5 separate regions of the Homo sapiens genome follow, and all the other regions are linked to region 1. Evidence: promoter capture Hi-C in 16 types of primary human blood cells and fetal thymus (Javierre and others, 2016). All regions are on one chromosome and are shown on one strand. Each heading gives the region's core, a stretch centred on a gene start or on the middle of the fragment in contact. The rest is flanking DNA. Distances are from core to core; before and after follow the strand shown.

Evidence for each region. Contacts are between HindIII fragments. The CHiCAGO score rates a contact against its expected background, and 5 or more counts as called.
Region 2: a contact is called between the fragment with the promoter of EPB41L4A here and the fragment with the promoter of DCP2 in region 1, in 1 of 17 cell types (total B cells). The highest score is 6.3, in total B cells.
Region 3: a fragment that was not itself captured here is called in contact with the fragment with the promoter of DCP2 in region 1 in 1 of 17 cell types (total CD8 T cells); the score reaches 5.7 in total CD8 T cells.
Region 4: a fragment that was not itself captured here is called in contact with the fragment with the promoter of DCP2 in region 1 in 5 of 17 cell types (naive CD4 T cells, total CD4 T cells, activated CD4 T cells and 2 more); the score reaches 10.9 in naive CD4 T cells.
Region 5: a contact is called between a fragment that was not itself captured here and the fragment with the promoter of DCP2 in region 1, in 1 of 17 cell types (erythroblasts). The highest score is 5.2, in erythroblasts.

What each region holds. Positions count from the first base shown.
Region 1 is chr5:112,975,544-112,978,243 of GRCh38, forward strand. It overlaps DCP2 (decapping mRNA 2), which reads left to right and starts at 1,255. Exons shown (of 11, transcript NM_152624.6): 1 at 1,255-1,443. The coding sequence starts at 1,391. RefSeq lists enhancers at 746-795, 826-905, 921-1,680, 1,216-1,265, 1,336-1,425 and 2 more. The HindIII fragment of the contact is 6,686 bases long and covers 1-2,700 here.
Region 2 is chr5:112,417,902-112,420,601 of GRCh38, forward strand. EPB41L4A (erythrocyte membrane protein band 4.1 like 4A) reads right to left here and starts at 1,376. Exons shown (of 23, transcript NM_022140.5): 1 at 1,040-1,376. The coding sequence starts at 1,138. It overlaps EPB41L4A-DT (EPB41L4A divergent transcript), which reads left to right and starts at 1,682. Exons shown (of 1, transcript NR_027706.1): 1 at 1,682-2,700. RefSeq lists a silencer at 2,041-2,130. The HindIII fragment of the contact is 9,034 bases long and covers 1-2,700 here.
Region 3 is chr5:113,525,599-113,528,298 of GRCh38, forward strand. It overlaps YTHDC2 (YTH N6-methyladenosine RNA binding protein C2), which reads left to right. Exons shown (of 30, transcript NM_022828.5): 4 at 988-1,187. Among named protein-coding and RNA genes, the nearest start is that of YTHDC2, 13 kb to the left of the region's middle. The HindIII fragment of the contact is 5,116 bases long and covers 1-2,700 here.
Region 4 is chr5:113,607,660-113,610,359 of GRCh38, forward strand. No RefSeq gene overlaps it. Among named protein-coding and RNA genes, the nearest start is that of YTHDC2, 95 kb to the left of the region's middle. The HindIII fragment of the contact is 6,590 bases long and covers 1-2,700 here.
Region 5 is chr5:113,590,183-113,592,882 of GRCh38, forward strand. YTHDC2 (YTH N6-methyladenosine RNA binding protein C2) reads left to right here. Exons shown (of 30, transcript NM_022828.5): 27 at 859-1,062; 28 at 1,814-1,996. Among named protein-coding and RNA genes, the nearest start is that of YTHDC2, 78 kb to the left of the region's middle. The HindIII fragment of the contact is 171 bases long and covers 1,340-1,510 here.

The sequences.
Region 1 (2,700 bases), core at 5-2,504:
GAAGGATAAAATAAAATATACAAAGCAAGAATGTGACACCACAAGAAAGGGGCATTTGAAGAACAAAACAGAACTCTAAATAAGTAAAAACTCTGTAGTTGTCAGGAAGATAAATTTGAGGAATTCTCCAAGAAAGAGGGGAAAAAAAAGATGGAAAACGGGAGCAAAATAGATGGTGACGGGCCTCTTATGCCAAAGGAACTTGGGCTTGATCATACAGCAGAAACTGAAAAGATAACTTGTTCCTATCTGAGTAAAACAAAACAAAATGTAGGCAGTTGCACAGGCCAAGAATGGAGGCAGAGTCAGTGGTTAGGCAGCTCTCACTGTAGTATGGAGAAATGATGCAAAACTGAAGTACACAGTGGCATGTGACAAATTTAGACAAAAGATGGGAGATTAAATGGTAGAACAGACTAAACTTGTGACGGAGCAGGTGTGTGTGGGCCTGTGGGTCTGATGTAAGAGGAAAAAGAACAGATGGATCTAGTTTCTCCAAAGATCCCAAATGGATTGGTCTCCATTAAGCAAGACGAGGAATGAATAAGGACGAGCAGGTGGGGATTGCTTTGTGCAGAGGGTGGAATACAGATCAGAGTTCAGCTTAAATCAGTATTTTCTAAGATTTTGCTAGGTGCCAGATACTGAGATAAAGTCCTTGTCTTCATGTTTGGAACCAGGTGCCTAAGGAAGCACAGAGGAGAGCCACCTCCAAAATGGATACCCTCTCCAAGGGTTTGTAGTGAAAGAGGCACAGCTCTTGGCCTGGAGTTGGTGGGGGCTGCGATAAGTGCAAGATACTTGGTGACAGGAATCGCGAGCATACTCTTGTGTTGTACGGATTCTCAGGGTCGGCCCTGCAGAGGAAAGAGCTCAGTCACCGCGAGGTCCTGCACAACATGCCAAAGTCCCGGATATGTGTCCGGGGTCTACACCTAAGCCCCGACCCCTCTGAACTTCCCAGAAGCGCGCAGGAGGCATGGTGCGCATGCGTGTAGCCACCTCAAAGGCGGCGGGAAGTTGGTTTTCTGAGTAGCAACTGAGCAGCTTGAAGACGGATTGGAAGTAGCAGACCAATAAACAAACGTCTCATTGGCTTAGAGTGCTTAGAGTCCCAATTCTTCAGCTTCCCATTGGGCCTTTCAAGCGAGCAGGGGCGTGACTCCGGGGGCTCCGCCCCGAGCCTTGGCCCAGTCTTGGGGTCCAAGGCTGAGGGAGCGGGACGGAAGTGAGCGGGTCCCGCCCCTTCCCCTTCTCGTCTCCGTTGGAGTCGTCTCTGCCGCGGCTTCCTCGGCTGCCAGCTCTCCGGCGAGCCGGAGTCCTAGTGCCGTACCGTCAGTCCCCGGCCGCGCGGAGCCGGGATGCACTGTTCCTGCTGTGGGTCCTCATCATGGAGACCAAACGGGTGGAGATTCCCGGCAGCGTCCTGGACGATCTCTGCAGGTACCGCGCTACCCGACCCCCTTTCGCCCCCGTCGGGTTTTCTCAGTTTCGCGGACCCCCAGAGGCCTCTGGGTCTTCTTCCCCGCCCACGTCCATGTCCTCGCTTTCCGCTCCCGCCGCTGCTCGCTTTCCATCGTCGACCCTGCTCTCCGACGACACCGCCCCTCTTTCCGCCGCAGCCTCCCTGTTTCTCAAGGCCCTCCGTCCTTCCCCGCAGAACACCCGGAATTTCCTCATTTTTTAAGTTACTCAACTATTTTGCTTTCCCGCAGGCGTAGCCGCTTCGCCGGAGCCTGGGTCTTAGCGTTTTGCCGCCGCCGCCGCCTCCCTCTCCCATTGTTTTTTCTGCCTCTGTGACTTTTCCACGCCGTGCACCCCCTCCTCCCTGTGTCTCATTCCCCGATTCTGAAGGAAGACCCCCAGGGTAGTAATTTAAGGCTTAGGATCCCAGGTACGCGGACCTGCGCAAGGAGCAAATTTTCGGACTTATTCTGACGCCTGCGTGTTATTTGTCCGTGGCGTTCTCTGTAAATTCCTGTAAGGAATTACTTTTTTTTTCTCATCCCTGGACTTGTCTTTGGGGGAGAGAGGGAAAAAGTGTAGCGCTGCTTTTCTTTTTATCCTTAATAATCCTATTTTAAAGGAAATTCTCAACCGCGGGGTTTTAACTCAGGGTGTATACTTCAGATGAGAAATTTTCTGCATTCTTCCCCCTTGTCAACTCTGATTTCAGATAGCCAAACACGTGTAGGATACTTAAAAATGCTTATTTTCCGAAGGTAAAATTTGGAGTGCAGTGATACCCGGAGTTGTCGCCAAGTGTGTGTGGATTGTGATTACAAGTGATAACACCTTTTCGTTCACAGTTACTGTGTTTATGTTTTAAAAGGCAGGCTTTTAGTAGTTGTATCTCCTTCATGCAGTTTTTTTTAATGGAAAGTAAAGAACTGGTGTTTGTGGAGTTTTTTGGGGTTTTTTTTGTTTGTTTGTTTTTTTGTTTTTATTTTTTGAGACGGAGCCTCTTTCTTTTGCCCAGGCTGGTGTGCAGTGGTGCGGTCTTGGCTCACTGCAACCTCTGCCTTCCGGATTCAAACGAGTCTCTGCCTCAGCCTCCCTAGCAGCTGGGATTACAGGCACCCGCCACCACACCCGGCTAATTTTTGTATTTTTAGTAGAGACGGGATTTCACCATCTTGGCCGTGCTGGTCTCGAACTTCTGACCTCGTGATCCACCCGCCTCGGCCTCCCAAAGTGCTG
Region 2 (2,700 bases), core at 126-2,625, 560 kb before region 1:
GCATAAAACTATGTAAAAACTGATTCACAAAAGGAAATGCCCAGGGCCTACCCCATTATGATTAACTTCTGAGATGAAGCGACTAAGAGAGGATACTTGGCAGCCTGAACTCGATTTCTCAGAAAGCCAGCTCTATCAGAGCGGGGGCGGGGGGGCGGTTTCCCTTCACCAGACTCAGCTGTTGCCTTATCTAAAATGCCTTAGCGATCTAAAACTGAAAGAGAAAGATAAACAAAACAACAAAACGCTCCGGATTTAGATCTCCTTTAGGTAGTTAACACTGTTGCAAAAGCAAAACAAGCACGCAGGCGCGTCGGTCAGGTTGTCACTACAAACATACGTACCTTCTCATCCAATGTAAGGAAGAGGATCTCTGCGAGCTCTGCTGCCTTTTTGTTTGGGCTCTCTAGGTTAATGTAGTGATTGCATTTTAATGACCCACAAACAGGAGCAAAGTTATTACTGGGTCGCTTTGAGAGATGTTTACTTAAATGTGAGGATAAACCCAGGTCGCTGTAGAAAGGGAAAATATTTTCCGTCCAAACGTAGCATTACCCAACTACGAACCCACGCAAAACAATCACAATGACCCATTAATGCGTTTCAACGAGTGAACTAGTTCACTTCCCTAATAACACTGTCAAGGAAAACGCCTTCAACAAAGTCGAGGGAAACCATGCCTTCCACACTGGTGGGACGCAGCTGGTATAACCCATTCTGCCCCTCTTTGAGAGCTGCGGGGCACCCAGAGGCTTTTGGAGAAAACCGGTTTGGGGAAGAGTTTTGGGGTGCTGCTGGGAGCCGGTGTGCTGAGTAAACTTAGAAACGTCAAACTCAACTTTGCTTTATGAAGGAACTCAAAGTTAACTCACCCTGGTACGTCCACCCTCTCCCTGCGCGCAGGGGACAGCGGCCTCTCCTCCCCACCGCGCAGAGTCGCGGCCGCCGCCCTCGACCCACCGGTGACAGCCCTCAAAGCGATGGACCCCCGCACCCGCCCTGCCGCCAACCCCCGGAACGCGCTCCGGGCCGCACCCACCTTGATGCCCTGCTGCTGGGTGGTAAGGGTTAACTTGGATTCATCCAGGAGCAAAACTTCGCAGTAAAATTCTTCCGGAACAGCGCAGAAACAGCCCATGTCGGTTGTGGTCGTCTCCAGCCAGGAGAGAAAGCTACCACCGAGGCGCCCAGCCGCCCCCTCCACTCAAGCGCGATGCATTAATTTATTGTCCGCGCCGTGGCGAGGGTGAGACGAGCAGCTCCCGGCGGGGTCCGGGGACCGGCCGCCGAACCGCCCGGCGGGGCGGGAGCGAGAAAGGCGGAAAAGCCCGGGAGAGTCAGCGCCCGGGAGCCGCCGGGGAAGCGCCGGCGGAACTGGGCGCGGAGGGCGGTGGCGCGTCCCCGCGCATCCTGCGGCTCGAGCTCCTCCGAAGGCGGGGGCGCGGGGCCCCTCCCGCAGTCCTGGGGACGACAAAAGTCTCCTGGCACTGGGGGCAAGAGACCAGAAAAAGGAGTGATGGGAATTCGAGGCTCTCCCCGGCCTTGGAAAACCCTGGAAGCGCTGCACCTCCCTCCTGCCGCACGGATTTGAGCGCGGCCCCGACGTCCTGGCGTCCGATCGGCCTGCGGAGTCCCCCGCGGGCGCGCACTTCCAGCCGCGACCCCGCCCCGCAGCCCCGGGTCAGATCCGCCGAGTATGAAGCGCTCGGCTTTTCTTTTGTGTGAGGAGCACCCACGACGCCCCGACCATGGGCGCAGGGGCAGAGGCGAAGGTCGTCGCTCCGTCCGCTACCCCGTCCCCCAGCCGCAAGCGCCGAGGAGCCGGAAGAGAGGCGGAAAGGGCAGCAGGCTCCTTACCCAGACCAGCGAGGGGAGGTCAGCTCGTCGCGGGGTGTGGCTCCCGTCCGGGGACTCCCGAGCTCATTACGGGTGGCCGTGTGTAGCCAAGTTCAAGCTCTCCCTCCGGGAATGCCTGCCGCGGCGGCGGAATACGGCTTCTTCAGGACATTCAGCAAAGCGGGGAGGCGGGGACCTGCGGGCGGAGGAGCGACGCCCCAGCTGGGAACGCGGCGGACGGGCGAGCGGGGGGTGCGCCCTGGGCGCGCCAGGCCGCAGAGGCTCCGGGGAAAGTTCTCTTGGCCGCGCGAGTGGTGGCGCCCCGGGCGGGAGCAGCCCAGGTGCATGTGGGCCCGGTCCAGGCGTCTGCAAAAAGCCCTGGAACGAAGCGGACCCCCCAGTCCAGCGCTGGCCGCGGCAGGGGAGCCCCTTCTGGGCGGGGTATCAGCTGGGGGCGGAGGGCGGGGCAGAGACCGTGGTCCCAGCGGCGAGGTGCCGGCGAGTCCACGCTGCCAAGCCGCACACTGCGCCCAAGCCGCGGGGCAGTCCAGCGCTCGCTGCGTCCTTCCCCCGAGAGACCTGGAGGCTGGGTGGGGAGAAGAGGACGCGGTGCTGCTCGGACCCCACGGTTCGGCGGTCCCAATCCCACGCCCTCCGCGCGGTCGGCCGCGTCCAGGACTGAGGGGCACAATAGCTCTGAAGCTGCAGTGACCCCTGGTGGGTCCCGATGTCCGTGCACAGGCAGCCGAGGTTGAGCTGCGGACGACACTGAGCCCCGCTGGGCTTCGGAGCAGGTGCAATCTGTGCTCTCCAGCTGGGAACCAGCAGCGAGTTAATGCGAGTCGCAGTTAGGGGAGACACGAG
Region 3 (2,700 bases), core at 126-2,625, 550 kb after region 1:
ACTAGACTTTCCTATATTATGCTGCCATAACACACTAATAAGTGAGATTTTGAACTGGGGCTTTAGCTCTGGTAAGAGATTGGACAGAGTCTTCAGTACATTAAGTTGCTCAAAAGTAGGTAGATAATGTATTTGGGTTATAAAATAAAGATGTAATTTTACTATTTGGAAAGATCACTTCCCTATTAAGAAAACTATTTATTGCCTATAGTGATAAAATTTACATAGTTATTATTGTCTATTGGAATAGATCAGCAGAATATAGAAAATATGTGGTCCTAGATATCAAAGAACTTTCACTTTAAATATAGGCACACAAACATATTTTGAGCTACATGAATATAAAACATTTCATACCTCTTCTTTATTCCTATCTGTTTAGTTAAATGTGGATGTTGGCTAAAATACGCCATTAGGAAATTTGTTAACATTAGGACCTTTATATTTAACACATAATTATTCTATTTGATCACTTAATCTTACATGTATAGCATTAAACATATATGGGATATTTTCTTTTTTTTGTAATATGTTTTCGTAATGTACGTGACAGATCTTATAAGTATAATGTACATTATTTCCTACTACAAAAATTTAATTTTCCATGAAATTATTGATAGAAATTTATAACAAGCCTAAAAATCATCTAGATTATCAAGATTGTTTTATTTTTAATGGTTATTGAATGATTTATTTTTATCAATTTTTAAACATTATGTACCAGAAATATGTCTGAGGTTCACTTTCTAATTGATATTGAAATTTTGTAACATGTTCAATGAGAATATTATGTGTAAGAGTACAATTGAGATATTGCTTGACAACTTTATGTAGACTGAGTAGAGAAGAAAACATTTGAAAGGAATTATGTTAGAAATTATGTCTTTTGGCATGTTTTTCTAGGTTTGGCAAAAAAAATTACTTATTTTTAACACTTCTTTTTCCGTGTTGATCATACATTTTTTGTTCTTTTATTCATTTTCAAAGAAAACCGGGAAATGAGCAAGACAAGTGGGCGACTCAACAATGGCATACCTCAGATTCCAGTGAAAAGAGGAGAATCCGAATTTGATTCTTTTAGGCAGTCTTTACCAGTGTTTGAGAAACAGGAAGAAATTGTTAAAATAATTAAGGAAAATAAAGTAGTTTTGATTGTAGGAGAAACTGGGTCTGGAAAGACCACACAGGTTTGTTTCTTTTTTGTTGTTTATAGAAAAAAAAAAAAAAAATATATATATATATATATATATAGTCCCATATTATAATTTTATATCAAATTTACACTGCATATGTTTAAAAAAACAGAAAAAGAAACTTGTGGTTATTATAGTAATGGTTATTTCAGAAGTAAATTACTACTGGAATATATTTGGAGAATTTGTAGAAAGAAAATGTTTTAAATAATTTACTTATTTTTAAACTAGTGCATTAGGCCTTTATTTAAACAGAGTTGGGAAACTGATTTGGTATCATGGAAAGAAGATGGGCTTTGGCCTTGAATTTAGATTCCAGTTCCCTCAGTTATTGAAGTTCCAGGCTCTTTTTGTAACCTCTGTGAGCCAGAGTTCTCATTTATAAAATGGGACTAATCATTGCTACCTTTCACAGTGAGGTGTAGAGATTATCTCTGTAAAGTGCCTAGCATAGCATTTTGCATATAGGAACCAAAGTAAAAGCAGTAATAACAAATATTAATATAAAGTTGACTGTAGAATGGAATTAATATGATAGGTTTGACTTGCATTTTTAGAATCAAAGTACCTCCTTATGAAGTTTTACTCATAGGATAACAGATTGGAAGTAGTAAGTATGACATCATATGACTCTTGTGTACATTCTTGCGGCATTTCAGCTTAAAATTACTAAAATTAGTTTGCTTTTAATAGAGGTTCAGATAAAATAATAAATAGAATATTTGTAGGTTTTCTTCTTTTAGGGACATAATTTTGCTTTTGACAATTGCCTAAAATTTCCTGTGATTATATTGGTTAGTTTAATAGGCTTAGTAGATAAGGCAAGGTGGGAGGAGAAGTTGAGTATAAACTTTACCAGTTTTTTACTTGAAGGACTTAAACATTTTTACAGAATTATATCTGTTTATCCTTAAAACTTGATCCTGTAAAACTGAATAATTAAAAACATGATGAAATTTTTTTCTGAAGACTATACAAGATCTTTCTTTAGCATGAGTTTGTTTTTTATTTTTTTGAGACCAAGTCTCTGTCTGTCACCCAGGCTGGAGTGCAGTGGTGCTATCTCGGCTTACTGCAACCTCAGTGCCTCCCAGGTTCAAGCGATTCTCCTGGCTCAGCCTCCTGAGTAACTGGGATTACAGGCACCCGCCACCACGCCTGACCCAGCATGAGTGCTTTTATGATTAAGTGAAATTCCATGGAGTTACTCCAGAGAATTTGTTTAGCTGTCTTAGATTGTTATAATTTTTTTAGGGTGAGTAATTTTGCCATTAAGTATTAATTGTAGCAGTTCTAATTATATAGAATAGAGATTATGGAAGTTTCGATAAAATGTAATAAATAGGTCTTTGTTTAAATTATTTGAATGTCCTTGCTAATGATATCTATATATGAGAATTATGGATGCCTGTTTTCAACAGTTATGTGTATCATTTTACTAGATATGAAAGGATACTTGTGAATTTAATTCGTAAATATTATACTCTTTGCTTTTTAAGAAGAAACT
Region 4 (2,700 bases), core at 7-2,506, 630 kb after region 1:
CTCGAATGCAACTTCCAGATGCTGTGGCCCTTCCTGCCCCCCATCCACATGTCAGCTCCTCCAGTTCTACTACCCAAACCGCTAGACTTTTCTATGGTATTTCTCCTTCCTTCTTTCACAGTTTAAAATGGCTCCTATTCCTTCTTTTATAATGTTCCTCCAAACAGAGAAATGTCAAGTTCCCCAAACCTTAAAGTGCATCGCTTAGAGTTGAGCTCAGGAGCAGGGAACCCAGAAGCTGACATGCCAGCAAAACGGTAAAAGTTTTTTTTTAACCAGTTGGGCTTTTGGCCTCTCTGTCTCTGGGCAAACTGGTAAAAGGGATAATAAGGATCACTGATTACATTCTCTGTTAAGTTTTAATTAATGAAAAAGGATTTGTGTAGTTGGTCTTAAGCTGTCGTCAATCTGGTGTGCTTTGCATGTCTTTCTGCATGGTTCTGTCAAAAGAAAGGGTGCCTTAGGACTGGGACCTCATAAACCTGCTGTTCAAGCCAGCCCTACAAAATGATCGGTGATGAAGTTTGCTGCAGGCCTCCATCTTGTTTTATGTCCTTGGGAACATGAGCTGTGACTACGTGGCAATATTTTGTTTTAGTCTCTGCCATTCTACAGTGGTGGCTGTCTTCTTGTGCTGAGTCACTTCCTGAGTGGGGGCTACAAAATCAGATGAGCCAGTTTGTCAATCTGGGTGGTGCCAGCTGATCCATCAAGGGCAGGGTTTGCCAAGTATCTTGAGCACTGATCTTGGGAGCAGTTTAGGGAGGGTCAGAATCTTGCAGCTTCCAGCTGCACGACTCCTGAGCCATGGTTTCTAATCTTGTGGCTAGTTTCTTGGTCTAGTGCCCAGACAAGAGGGAGGCTTATTTTGGGAAGGAGTTGCTATCATCTTTGTTTTAGGCTATAAACTGTAAACTAGGCTCCTCCCAGAGTTGGTTTGGCCTATGCCTAGGGATGGGCAAGGACAGCTTGGGGGCTGGAAGCAAGATGGAGTTGGTTGGGTTGGACCTCTTTTACCGTCTCAGTCATTTTGCAATGACAGTTTCAAAAGTTGCTTACCGCCCCTTTGAGAATACCTCATACACTTGCAGTTAAGTCATAACCTAATGGAGGCTTATTGGTTTCACCTGTGAGGTTACTTTTGGTAAAGTTCAAAAGCCAAAAATCTTAACCACTTGGTGTGGCTAATGTTGAGTAACAAGATATCTTAAATGATTTTCTTAAAGAGAGCTCAGCTTAATTAAAAGTGGATATTCAAGCTACAGGTATATTTTAAAGGCCTATACGTTTTTCTTTTCTTGGGTCTTGTTTTTCTGGAAAAAGGTTTTTATTCTCAGTTGACTGAATTATTTTTCTCCATTTTTTGTCTTGCCACTCTTTTTTTTTTTTTTTTTTTTTTTTTTGAGACAGAGTCTTACGCTGTCACCCAGCCTGGAGTGCAGTGGCACGATCTCGGCTCACTGCAACCTCTGCCTCCCAGGTTCTAGCAATTCTCCTGTCTCAGCCTTCCAAGTAGCTGGGACTACAGGCGCATGCCAGCATGCCCAGCTAATTTTTTGTATTTTAGTAGAGACGGGGTTTCACCGAGTTGCCCAGGCTGGTCTCAAACTCCTGAGCTCAGGCAATCCATGTGCCTTGGCCTGTGAAAGTGCTAGGATTACAGGCATGAGCCACTGCACCCAGCCTGTCTTGCCACTCTTAATGCACACATGAGATGGCCTAAGATAACTTTTGGTAGCCTGGAATTCCTTTGGAAAAACAGAGGAGATGCCAGAGACCCTGTTTTGGAAAAAAACCTCTGTTTTCCTCATGAAATCCCAGAATTAAAAGCGGATAAATCCCTCTCAAAATGAAAGGCTCTGTTCTATTTTGCATTGTGTTATCTGACGGTTTAGAGTTTGGGGAGTATCAGAAATTGCTTCACATTAGAGAGACCTTTGGTGTGTACTAACGAGGTAGGAAATATACTTTAAGGGATGGCTACTAGTAGTTATGGAGGGATACTTGACTCTTTGCACATTTGGATCAGAGAAGCACGCTGTTGACCACCTGGAAGATATGGAAACATCCCTACCCCCACTAAGAGATGAGACTCCCATGGGGGATGGGCTGATTACAAAATAGGCTTATTGGCTTTGCTTTGCCTTGCAATAAAATGCATGGTAGAAGCACTGCACTATCTTCTTCTATAGTATTTCTCTCCTTTTGGGGATCCAGGATCCAGTATAAAATGGCACCCTTAATTTTGGGGATCTGTCTTTGCCTTCAGCTGTGCCTGCTTATTAGACCCTAGAAATGAGTGCTTTCCTAGCCCTGTTCCTCCAAGGGCTCTACCCTGAAGCCAGTAATTCAGTTAAGAAACTGGCAAATGAAAAATCTTACAAGTACTGAATCTTCTGTCTGTCTGTATAGCTAAATATGTGTTGTGTGTAATGTCTATAAAACAGCTCTAATTGATTGGCTCAAAGAAAAATACACATTTAAATCAAGTATTTTTTAAAGCAAATATAAAAGCTATAATGCCTTTCAGTGCAAGTGGCTTTAATGTTTAAGAAATAAAAATAATCTTAGGGATTATTGGTAAAATATAAATGTCATCAAAATGCAAATGGGTGGTCTACATCATATAAGTCTGATACTAGGTTTGATAAATGTTTCAAGACTGTAAGCTGCCTGCTTTACAATTTGGTAAGGCCTGGG
Region 5 (2,700 bases), core at 175-2,674, 610 kb after region 1:
TTGTATATTCCTTTCAATAGCGTTAGACTTTGTTGTGATGCACAGTTTAGTTGCAATCAGTTGAATCCTTTTGAAGTTTGCTTTTAAGTAATGTTAGGAATGGGCCAGAGCAGTCTTTATTCTGTTATTAATTTAGTTCCAATACTAAGGTATGGCCCTTCTGTGGGCCAGTACCATATATATTACAGGTTCTATCTGTTCTGGCTGAAGATAACACGAAATATTCCCAGCCATGAGTGAGCTCTAGGAATTGTTTGGTCTACTTGTTTTCCTTTGGATCTTTCCCTAGCCTTGGGTTATTTATCTTTTTTCTCACTCATGTTCAGGTCAGCACTTAGCCAAAAACTTGTGGGAACCCCTCTGTGTTTCCTTTGGAGCTCTCTTTATGTGCAGCTCCTTTCTGTCTAAGATAGTACATTGCCATGCACAGTAGCCACTTCGGTCTCTGAACTCCAGTGTCTTTCTGCACAACTTAATGAGACCACTGGACTCTGTTTTTCTTTGTCCTCTGAAAACTGCCTCCAGGCAGTAAGCTGGAGAAGTATTTGTTTTGTTTTCTGATTTTGAAAGTTTATTAAAACAATTTCTGAAAGTATATTTGAGGTATAAACCAAAGTTGGTACTCCAGGAGCCTTTGTTGATAAGGGATTTTGAATGCTCTGAAAATGAGTACTTGTTTTTGGCTAACTTTATTTTGGTTGAGTCTTGTGTAGGTTTCAGACATGATAGAGCTATTTGCATTTGTTGAATATATGATAAAATATTTTGGCTTATATGTTTATGAAGATGTTATTTAATGGAGCCTCTTGGTTTTGAAAGGTCAGGTTACCTTTCAAGAACTTATGTTTTCTTTTATAGGGCTCAAAATCTCCTTCGCCAAGACCAAACATGCCTGTTCGATACTTCATAATGAAGAGTAGCAATTTGAGAAACCTTGAAATTTCTCAACAGAAGGGTATCTGGTCTACAACTCCTAGTAATGAACGGAAGCTAAATCGAGCCTTTTGGGAAAGCAGCATAGTTTACTTGGTATTTTCTGTTCAAGGATCTGGACATTTCCAGGTGAGCCACCCTGAATCAGTAAAATGGGGTTGTTCTGGCTATAGGTTAAATCATAGAGATTTTTAGAAAAACAACTGGCTTTTCATTGCATCAGAATGCAAGAATGCCTTTTGCTTGACTGAGAATAAGGGATATATTGCATCTCTTTAGAGGATGATAGAACTGGAATCCTCTTTGTTTTTGCCTTGTCTTACCAGAGTCTTTCCAGGTAAACTATGTTTCCTTCTGAAGACAACTTTAGATTTACTAATTCTCAAGTGGATTCAAAGTAATGAGAAGCTTGACCTTTTGGTAAAATATTTATTTAAATAGGCCAAGGAAGTTAGTATTGACAATCAGTAAACTAAGTATGTTTCTTAACCCATCACCCATCTTGACTTAATGTATACCTGAATTTATAAAATAATACATTTATTATTTGATGTTTATTATAATTTTTGGAAATGAAAGCTTAGAGGTTAGCTTGTATCCATTTATCATGGAATAAAAATATGGACTTTGCTATTTTATTTAGAAATCATTATTGATATTTGAAATTGTTAGGAGGCTAGAACTGTTTTTTTCTAAAATTTGCTAAGAGAGCTTTTAATGAAAAATTTAGTAGCTTATTTTTTGTTTTTGTTAGGTATCTGTTATTTCAATATTATATCTTAATCTTAAAATTTTAAAAACTCAGCCTTCTCAGATAAATTAAATTTAGACATGCTAATCTCCTCCTCACCTCTATTCCTTCCTCCCATTTTACCTACAGGGATTTTCTAGGATGTCTTCTGAGATTGGAAGGGAAAAGAGTCAGGACTGGGGCTCTGCTGGACTAGGAGGAGTATTTAAGGTGGAGTGGATACGAAAAGAAAGCCTTCCCTTTCAATTTGCACACCATTTACTCAATCCATGGAATGACAACAAGAAAGTGCAGATAAGCAGGGATGGGCAGGTATACAATGGCATTTTTTTTTTTATTTACTTTTGTTTCTGTTTGTTTTCTGTTATCCAGTGCTTTAATTGAGGAGAAAATGTAAGAGTACAAATTTTATATTCCATATGCACATGGGAAACAGGGGTTCAGGTTTGTAAAAAGATAGTAAAAACCTACTTGTAAATGTGTCTGATTGCTCCTTGCAGTCAGAGTCTCAAGATGACAATAGTATTTAACTTCTCTTTGGCTTTAATTATGTAAAGTAAATAACCTTTTTATATTCTAGTGGCTTGTTTATTTCTATTGTGTTTTGCTTTGTCTTCATGATGCTATTTACATGCATTTTAAGCTAGTTAAGATGATGGAAATTAATGTATATTGACCAAATACTATGCTAGCTGCTTTAGAAGATATAATTTATTTCTTATGATTAAATTATTAGTCCAATTTTATATAGGAGAAAATAGACTCAAAGATTAGTTTTGCCTAAGGTCACACAGCTAATAATTTATCTGAACCAGTATGACTCGTTTCAAATCACCATGTAAAAAGTGTTTGGGTTCTTCTTAAGTGCTTATCATAGGTTATCATTCCACAGGAGTACTATGAAGTGGGATTCTTTTCAATTGTGTGAGAATAATTTCATTTTTATTCTATAATAATGATTTTGAAGAAATATGTTAGCTAGAAATCTTAGAAGAAAAAATATTTTAATAATTTTC